Linked DNA regions of Homo sapiens: region 2 is linked to region 1. Evidence: promoter capture Hi-C in human tissues and cell types (Jung and others, 2019). All regions are on one chromosome and are shown on one strand. Each heading gives the region's core, a stretch centred on a gene start or on the middle of the fragment in contact. The rest is flanking DNA. Distances are from core to core; before and after follow the strand shown.

Region 1 (4,785 bases), core at 1,345-3,844:
GCCTCCAGGGGCTATGCTCATGTTTTGGCCATAACCTGTGGCTCCTCCCTCAGGCCCCAGCTGTTTCCCTCAGTTCTAGTTGTTTCACTCCTGGTTTCTAAAAGGATCCTATCTATATTTAGAGGTAATGCTAGTACCAATTGTGGGCTCAAGGGCACCTGAGTACTGAGCAGTTTTCAATTGTTTTCCAGAGTTAATTGGTTTGGCTCCACAACTGGCTGTCTTGACTTCTACAAGTAAGAGTGCCACGTATGCACAGTACCTCAGCAGTATAAGACTAAACAGAAAACTAAGTGTGGTCGCAGGACAAATCCTAAGCAAAAAGATGTTTTTAGCCCTATTTATCAGGATCCCAGACCTTTGTTAAATCACAGGAGCAGTAAACCTTCAATGAACTCCACAGAGTAGGCTACAGCCTACTAACTTAATCTTCATCTAAATCACAGTTATCAGACCCAAGTTTCAACCAGTTCATGCTGCTTTACTATAACCAAGATGAGGGTGAAGCAGAAAGAGCAAACAGGTAGTGAAGATTTTAAAAAAGGCATCCGATACAGCTAGGTCTGAATAAAGCTTTGTTATTTACTAGCTCTGTGACCTTAGTAAATTATTTAACCTCTTAATTTACAAAATATGAAATAATTGTGAGGATTGAATGAGATAATACATACAAAAAAATCTTAGCACCTTGGCTAGCCCACTGAAAGAGGTCAATTAAAAAAGAGGCACATTAGGCTGCGGTGGCTCACGCCTGTAATCCCAACACTTTGGGAGGCCAAGTCAGATGGATCAAGAGGTCAAGAGTTCGAGACCAGCCTGGCCAAGATGGTGAAACCCCCGTCTCTACTAAAAATACAAAAATTAGCCAGGCGTGCTGGCGGGCACCTGTAATTCCAGCTACTTGGGAGGCTGGGGTCGCTTGAACCCGGGAGATGGAGGTTGCAGTGAGCCGAGATCACGCCACTGCACTCTAGCCTGGGCAACAGAGCAAGACTCCATCTCAAAAAAAAAAAAAAAAAAAAAAAGAGGCACATTGTCACTAATGAGAACACTGCACTCATTTCTTGCTTTGTTCAATTTTCATAACATCTAAGAAAAGTAACAATTTAAATCATTATTTTTGGACCTTTGTAAAGTAACCTAAATGCTACCATCCAAGACCTAGCTGAGAAATACAAACTGATTAATGTCCATAAATCTTAGATGAGTCAGCAAAACTTAATGCCCAACAAATAAAAGGCTTAACATGGACTACTTAGGAGCACACAATGGTCATTACAATTTCAAAATCGGCAATTTTCTATCTAGTACAATCACAAATTTGGTCTGGAAATCCAAATATTAAGGAAATGCAAACATCATAATCAATATTCCCAAATCACCTTAATTGAAACTGGAAGGTATGAGGCAGCCTATTTGAAGTTAACATCAAGAAATAATTTAAGGCAGAACCCCAACTCTCTCCCACAAACACAAAACCAGTAGCAGATGGCACAAGAACATTTCTCAGTGAGAAATTGCAATTCTAACAAAGTACAGGTAACTTAATTTTATCCATCACCTTTTGGTCAAACTGAAAACAAACAACCAAGCTTTTGGTTCTCTCCAAAACACTGAAATCTGCATTATCACTGACCTAACTTAAAGCAAGATATTTTTGGTGATCTGTCCTCTCCTGCTTCATTAACCGTAGGTAAATTAGGAACAGTAGCCTGCTAAACAGAGGGGAAGTAAATATCACAGGCATGTTTTATCAATAAAATGGACAAGCGATAATCAAATTATTTAAAGAACGGCTTGTACTCCTTAACAGAGGGACAAGCTTGAGAAAGATCCACTTTCTAAAAGAACCTAATCATTCTGGATGAATTATGAGAAAAATATCACTGTAGTCCAAAACTGACTGAATCTACCTTTCTGCTTTAATCCAAGTCCTAACCACATCTATTTTATGTCTCTGCGTCTGTTCGCCTGATTTTCCATTTCGTCTCCCCCTTCAATTCCAAGAACGCCCTTCTCTCCCTTATTTTCAAATCTCATTATTGCCCCCGAATGCTAAGGACCTCGCACAGCCACGGAGGTGACCTTACGCATCCCTACTGCATTCCTAATTCATTGTACTTCTCATCCCAAATGATCCTATTCTTTCGTTCTATCTCGCTCGTTGTTTCTTAAAATCCAATACCCCACACACGCTCACGCCAGAGTCCCCCCCACACTCCATTGTTTCCCCGGCCTATCCGTCTGGAAACTCCCCAACTCCGACGCGGGTGTTTCACCCGCCCCACAGACCCCAGGAACCTTCCACCCTCTGGGCACTTCGGGCCTCTAAGGGCTCACATCCCCCTCCTTCCCGTCCCCCCGCCCCCAACTACCCCCTCCCTCTTTTTCCTCCCTCAACCCGCTCCCCGCACCTCGGCGCCCTCTGAGCCCCCGCCAACCCCGCCACCCAGCACCCTTAGCCTCACCTAGCCCAGGCCCCCGCAATCGCCTCGTCGCCCCAGCTCCGGGCTCCGCGTCCCGGACGCTCCCGGGTCTGAGAAGAGGAAAGGAGATCCTCCACCTCCCCTTCTAGAGCCACCGCCGCCGTCGCCGCCGCGCTCCTCCCCCAGCTCTCTCAGAGCCGGACGCCGCCCCGCCCCCACCGCCGCCTCCCCACTTCTCTCCTGGGCCGGACTGCAGGATGCTGCCGGAGATCCAGCAGATCACCCCGACCCTCGCCCAGGCAGCGGCTCGCCCCGCCCCGGAGCCCTCTCGGGCGCGTGCGCGCCAGCCAGCCAGCCAGAGCTCAGGGCGCGTACTCGCGCCGGCGCGAATCCGGCGCGCCAAGCTCGAGGCTGTGGCAGCCAACGGGTGCGCGAGCGCGGCTCGAGCGGCGAGACGGCCCGCGCACCGGAGACCGAGAAGATCGGGGAGAGGCGCGGGGCGGCGAGAGGCGGGCTCCGACCAGTCGGGTTACCGCTCTTCTCGGGGCCCGGTCCCTCGCGTCTCGCACCGTCCGCAGGCTCGCGCGCCACCGGAGACTGGGAATTACCGGGGAAAGGAAGAGACTCGGGGAGAGGGTTGGGGACAAAGTAGATGGAAGGGGAAAACGGGTGGGACGCGAGCTCGCGTCCGCGTGCAGCACAGCTCGTACCCGGCGGCATCGGTTAGGGACCCGGCGCGCGCCGGGAACGGAGGGCCCGAGCTGAACTGACGGAAAGAGCCGAAACTCCCCCGGAGGTGGCCGAACGCGGGCGCCGCTAGGGGAGTCGAGCGCGGGGCTTTTGCTCAATGTCCGGGTTGGGAAGCTTTTTCTCTGGCCGCCGGGTACAGCGCCGCTCACTCTTCCGTACCGAGGACTTCACACCGCTTTCCCCTTCGCCTCCTTCCCGACCCAAGTTTTGTTCCAAAAGGCAATTTCAGAGTCGCCAACGACGGGAAACGCTGGGGCCTCCGGACCGCGCGGTCGCTCTGCCTCCTGAGAGAGCGCAGAGGCCGGTGGGGGCGCGGGAAGAATGACCTCGGGATCGTCAGTCGGGTTTCTGATCTACCCAGCTGTCAGCATAGCCCCTCTACGCGGCGGTGGTCGGTCCCGCCGCCCTTCGAATCTTTTCTGTTAAATACTCTCTTCGACGCCAGACTCCCAACCTCCCTGGTGCTGGAACTAACTAGTATTTGTGCACCCTTTCTGCATGCATAAAGCACTTACCTCAGTGTCGACTGGTCAGGGGTCTATTAAGAGGGGCCAGAGGGATTTAGACAGTCAGCATTGAAAATATTTATTAGAATCTGGGGCCGGGCGCGGTGGCTCACGTCTGTAATCCCAGCACTTCTGAGAGGCCGAGGCGGGCGGATGACTTGAGGTCAGGAGTTCGAGACCAGCCTGGCTAACATAGTGAAACCCCGTCTCTACAAAAAATACAAAAATTAGCCGGATGTGGTGGCACACGCCTGTAATCTCAGCTACTCGGGAGGCTGAGGCAGGAGAATAACCTGAACCCAGGAGTCGGAGGTTGCAGTGAGCCGGGATTGCACCACTGCACTCCACCCTCCATCTCAAAAAATATATATATATATTAGAATTTGTCCTCATCTTACCTTTTGAGGCCAAGCAAAGGGGCTCTGAAAAGGCACCAACAAGCTGGAGAGTGTGTGTCAGTGTATAGCTAGACACCACAGGCACATGTCATTTTGGTTTCCACGTATGTTATTGCAATCACAGTACATGTAACTGAGTAGTATAGTAGAGCTTTGCCAAGCCATCTGATCCTTGTGGTTTTTAACGTTGCTTGAGGTAAGGGCTCAAAAATCGCCTGGAGTCCAATGACCTGTGGTTAGTAATGTCTCATCTACTCCAACCATATGATTTACTGATCTAGATAAGCAGAAGACGAAGTCATCCAGCTAGGTACGGCACTGGACTATATGTTCCTTACTATTCAATCTTCATTCAAAAATTCAAATAGAAGCAAATTATCCAAATGTCTGCTTTCTTTTCATTCACTAAATTGGCACCTACTCAATGATGGTGGGTATTGTTCTAGGTATTCGAACATTTACAAAGAAGAATAAAAAAAATCATTACCCCAAGGAGAGTATCCAGTTCCAAAGGAGGATAAAGTTATTAAATAGGCCAGTTGCAGCAGCTTATGCCTGTAATCCCAACACTTTGAGAGGCCAAGGTGGGAGGATTGCTTGAGCCCAGGAGTTTGAGACCAGCCTGAGCAACATAACAAGGTCCCCCATCTCTACAAAAAACAAATATAAGTTATTAAATGACTATAATAACATAGTGTTGAAGCA
Region 2 (4,785 bases), core at 1,298-3,797, 130 kb after region 1:
AGCCTAGGAGTGTAGAAGACACTACCACCTAGGTTTGTGTATGTGCACTCTATGTTTGCACAGTGATGAAATTGCCTAAGGATGCATTTCTCAGAAAGTATCAGTCATTAAATGACACATGACTTATATGGAAGTCACATGACATGGACCCCAAGGACTACATAATCAGTGAGGCTTCAGTAGGCTATACTGTTGATAAAGCTACTTCATCTCTTTCAGGAAAATCATCATAAGCTCATCTCTGAATACAACATTCAGTTTTGTTGGAAAGTAACTATCAAGGTTTGCCGGGTCAGAACTATGCTTGATAACATGTTTCCATTACAAATGCTTTCTATCCCTCATACCATATTTTTCCGGGTGGGTGGGCCAACTGCAATCTGCTCTAATATTCTGCTTTCTACCAGTTCTCCCAACGTTTTCTGATTATGGACTTTAACAAAGTGCAATACCGGGGAATGCAGGCTCATGCTGAAGTATATGTATAAATGTGTTTGCTAATGCATTTAGACCCTCATGTGAAAAGGGCCTGAAGTCTTCTAAATAGAAAAATCTTCAACTGAATCAGAACTGACTGAGGAGTTTGGAAAATGTTGGCAGGGCTTCATGATCTTATATCAAACCGTGGCAAGGCCACATTTTAACATCTCCCTACTCCCAGATTAATTTCATTTCTGTCACCCTCTTCACCTTGGAAACTCCTCCCATTCAGCAAAATCAGAAGCATTCAGAATAAGCACATTGTGATTTCTGTCCCTGAAACCCGCTGTGTGCACTGATGGAAAGCATAGTTTTAGTTTGTAGCCCTGTGCCCGTGGGCCGGTGGAGGAAATTAAATGAGTTGAGCCTCAGGTTTTCCTCAGAGACCAGCAATGTAACAAATGACGACTCATTGAGGCCCGAGGGCTCCTCAACACAGGCCACTTTCTTGCAGAGAGTCAGCCTGGTCTCTTTTTATTTTTTAAAAACTATGTAAGATTTTTTTTTTTTTTTTTTTGAGACCGAGTCTCACCCTGTCACCCAGGCTGGAGTGCAACTTTCGCCTCCCAGGCGAACTGTAACTTTCGCCTGCCAGGTTCAAGCAATTCTGCCTCAGCCTCCCGAGTAGCTGGAATTACAGGCGCGCACCACCAGGCCCAGCTACTCTTTGTATTTTTAGTAGAGACGGGGTTTCACCATGTTGGCCAGACTGGTCTCAAACTCCTGACCTCAGGTGATCCACCTGCCTCGGCCTCCCAAAGTGTTGGGATTACAGGTGTGAGCCACTGCGCCCAGCCTGGTCCAGCCAAGGTGCCAGCGAGTCTCTCCTGGACAAAAAATGGGGCGCTGACCTGCAACCCCGACACCTTTCCGGAAAGGGCCTTGCAGCGGCGCGGCGCGTCCAGCAGATGGCGCCCCAGCTGAATTTTCGCGAGCTGTCCTCCAAGCTTGCAGAAAAATCTGGAACTAACAGGAAGGGGAATTTTTTTTTTTTTTAAGCATTCTAATTTTCAACCTATACTGCCTTTTTGTCCGTGTCAGGAGCCCTTTTTATTCGAATAAGTTGCAATGCATTTGAGATGTCTAAAAGACTTTTTGATTACGCAATCCCAAATTAATTTTTTTTTTTTTTTTGGCCGGGCGCAGTCGCTCACGCCTGTAATCCCAGCACTTTGGGAGGCCGAGGCGGGCGGATCACGAGGACAGGAATTCGAGACCAGCCTGACCAACATGGTGAAACCCCGTCTCTACTAAAAATACAAAAATCAGATGGGCGTGGTGGCGGGTGCCTGTAATCCCAAATACTCGGGAGTCTGAGGCAGGAGAATCGCTTGAATCTGGGAGGCGGAGGTTGCAGTGAGCCGAGATCGCGCCAGTGCACTCCAGCCTGGGCAACAAAAGCAATACTCCGTCTCCAAAAAGAAAATTTTTTTTAGGATGTCCACTCTTCCAAAAGACCCAAGAGGGAGGTTTTCAAACAGCATTAATTGTCACAAGAGTTCAGAAACTTTCGCGGACAGCGATATGTGAAGAAAGGCCGCTTCTAAACAGCAGGGCGTGGCGGGGGCGCGCTCGCCGGGCCGCGGCGGAAGTGGCCTTCGTGGCGGGCGGGGCGGCGGCTGCGGCCTGGAGATAGCGCCGCCTGCTGGTCACCGGGGACAGAGCGCTCGGGGCTCGCCAGGACTGCGGCGCCACGCGGGTGGGAGCCCGAGCCCAGGCCCAGGCCCTGGCGCTGCACGTCACCGTACTAACCAAGGAAGCAAAGTCATGGACACAACCACAGCCTCCTTTCTGCTCTGCAGAGAAACCTGGAAGCCTACTCTGGTTTGGAGAGTAGTGTTTCAACGAACTTAACGGTTTTTAGCGCTTGCCACAGCTAAACAGGGTGGACTTGATTTTTAGGGTGTCCTTGTTATTTAAGACAATGCTAAAGGAGAATGAAAATTAGAACCTGGTAGGGGACTGCTTTCATTTATTCTCTCCTGCTTTAATGGGATTTACAACATATTAAAAGCAGTTATCAGAGGCAAATTGGATAAATGGGCTAGGGGTTGCGTTTCAAGGTGGAGGCGTTTGTCATTTCTGACTGTGGCCCCTCGTTTTTATTCCAGGATCGTTGCAGTGCCATTTCTAGGTCCCTCCTCCTCTCCCCACTTCCCTTTTCTCTGCACCCATTTGACAGGAGCCTCTGCAATCATCTGCTTATTGCGCGTCACCGTCATCCAGTGGGAGAGCCTTGTGGTACCACCTTTCTCCACCTATGGCTGCGGCCCGCAGGAAGATGACGGGTTGCGCTTCTGCTCTGGAGCCAGCCCTGTTGCCGGGAACTGCAACCCGCAAGATGATGCCAGAGCTCAGCTTCCCTCTTTTTATGTTGCAGAGTTTATGCTGCCCTGCACTGAGCAGACGCTTTCGCTTACGCAGCCCTGCCCTTCACCTTGCCCAGTGATTCCGGAATAACCTTCCGGACCCTCCTACTTGCAGAGGTTCGTTGCTTCAAGCGTCATAATCATTCATCTCCGTTTTTCCTCTAGTGATGAAGGCTCGTGGACGGACCACGGTTCACTCGGTCTAGGAGTCACGCTGTTGATCAGGTTGTCAGACATCAAAATTCCCATCTCCCATCAGGGCACAGCTATAGGGCTCTGGGTCAAAACAGGGCCTTCTCTTTTGTCTGGTAGCACCAGAAACACGGTAATTGGGAACCCATCAGGAATGGAAGGCTCCTTGAGGCCCTGGAGATGGAATGTTGGGCCCCCAAGTCCTGAAAGGAACCAGTGGGGCTGTAATCTTCACAATCTGGATCCAGCCAGAAGAGCACTGAGAGCTCAGTGTTTGGAGGACAAAAAAGGGCAATGGATATACAGTAACTTAGTGAATCAGGGCCCGGATCCAGGAAGATGCCTGACATTTGTTTATCAGCAGAGAAACAGAAGTAAAGGAGGGGAACCTTCTCCTAAGTGTTACTGTGTTATGAAAGTGTCCTTCAGGGAGAGGCGACATGAACAGGGCAGCTGATAACGTTGATACTGTGCAGGCACACATCTCCCCACATTCCCCAGGCTGCTGAACCAAGTGTACCAAACTAATCGCAAGGACACAGCTTTGAGCCTCCCCGGCGGCAGTCCCTGGAGAGAGTCCGCTCAGACAAAGCAAAGCGCGCTCCCAGCGGGGAGGGGTGGCCACTTTTTCTTTGTTCTCCCTTGGAAAATCGGCTGTCTCTCAAGTCTCGTAAACCAGCTGCTTTCACTTCTTGCAGGGGGTCAAAATCAATTAATCACCAATCATGTTTGGACAGCACAGTTTTGAAGCCCTGAACTCTGTGAAATGCAGGGTCAAACTATTTTTAGAATTTTAACATGCCGTTAAGTTTGTATTCTGAGTTTCCCAGCAAAAATTTCTGAAATGTGCCCCACTTTGAAAAAATAAAATAAAAAGAACACCTCCAGAAAAAAGGTGGTGGAGACAGAGTGTTTGGGATTGTACTTAACCCCAAAACGACAAGTCATACATCTTACACTTAGGAATCTCTTCTTCACAGAAGTATAAGTTACTGAGCAGATATCTTTGCCTGCTGAGAAGCCCCTTCAGCAGTAAAAGGGAGAGCTCTCTGAGAAACCTCAACTTTCTACATTATAAGTGATATTTTTTTCTCATAAGAAGGATTTAACATAGCGCCTTTTTAAAAATTCAGAATTGCCTATCCCTGATTTAAGTGGGGGATCAAGACAAAGGGTGCCTGACTTCTGTATCAGGAATAGGCGTGCCACTCCCCAAGCACTTGGAGCATCTGCTGCCTGGGCTGATTCTTAAACCGAAATCCACACGTGGCTTGACAGCTGAAGTGCCCTTTTATGTCCAGTTGGAATTTCATGTTGGGCAGGCTGCAATGAGTTCATATCCAAACAGAAAATGGGTTCTGTGGGTCAGAGAAAGCTTACTGTGCTGAGAAGGACAAGGTGGACATTTTGTAAATACTATAGGTTTATTTCCGGGGAATTTATCCGCAAAAATGAGGTTGCTTCATTCCCTTCACACAGCATCCTCAGGCCCTTTCAGACAGTTTCTGCTCTTTGGATTTCATCTGCTTGCTAAATATCCACTCCTGTTGTGTCCAGAACAAGGGACTATCTGCAGGTTACTGTGAAAGCAAGCGTTGGGTGGCCCTGAGGGCAGCTCCTCCCAATCAGCTCTTGTCCTCCTTCTGTCAGGCCCTCTGGAGGAAATGAGAGCCACCCCCAGCCAGGAAATCAGCCCAGCATTAGCGTTTAGGGATAGATGATCTAATGGCTCAGGTTCTATAGG

What was found. Contacts are between HindIII fragments. The study calls those that stand out against the background at their distance.
Region 2: a contact is called between a fragment that was not itself captured here and the fragment with the promoter of SPATS2 in region 1, in 1 of the 25 tissues and cell types used here (hippocampus).

Annotation. Positions count from the first base shown.
Region 1 is chr12:49,365,271-49,370,055 of GRCh38, reverse strand. SPATS2 (spermatogenesis associated serine rich 2) reads right to left here and starts at 2,594. Exons shown (of 14, transcript NM_023071.4): 1 at 2,469-2,594. RefSeq lists enhancers at 79-218, 3,255-3,514 and silencers at 2,315-2,384, 2,415-2,464, 2,485-2,964. The HindIII fragment of the contact is 7,261 bases long and covers 2,557-4,785 here.
Region 2 is chr12:49,231,945-49,236,729 of GRCh38, reverse strand. It overlaps a transcript of TUBA1C not described here. Among named protein-coding and RNA genes, the nearest start is that of TUBA1C, 31 kb to the left of the region's middle. RefSeq lists a silencer at 1,964-2,253. The HindIII fragment of the contact is 6,126 bases long and covers 1-4,785 here.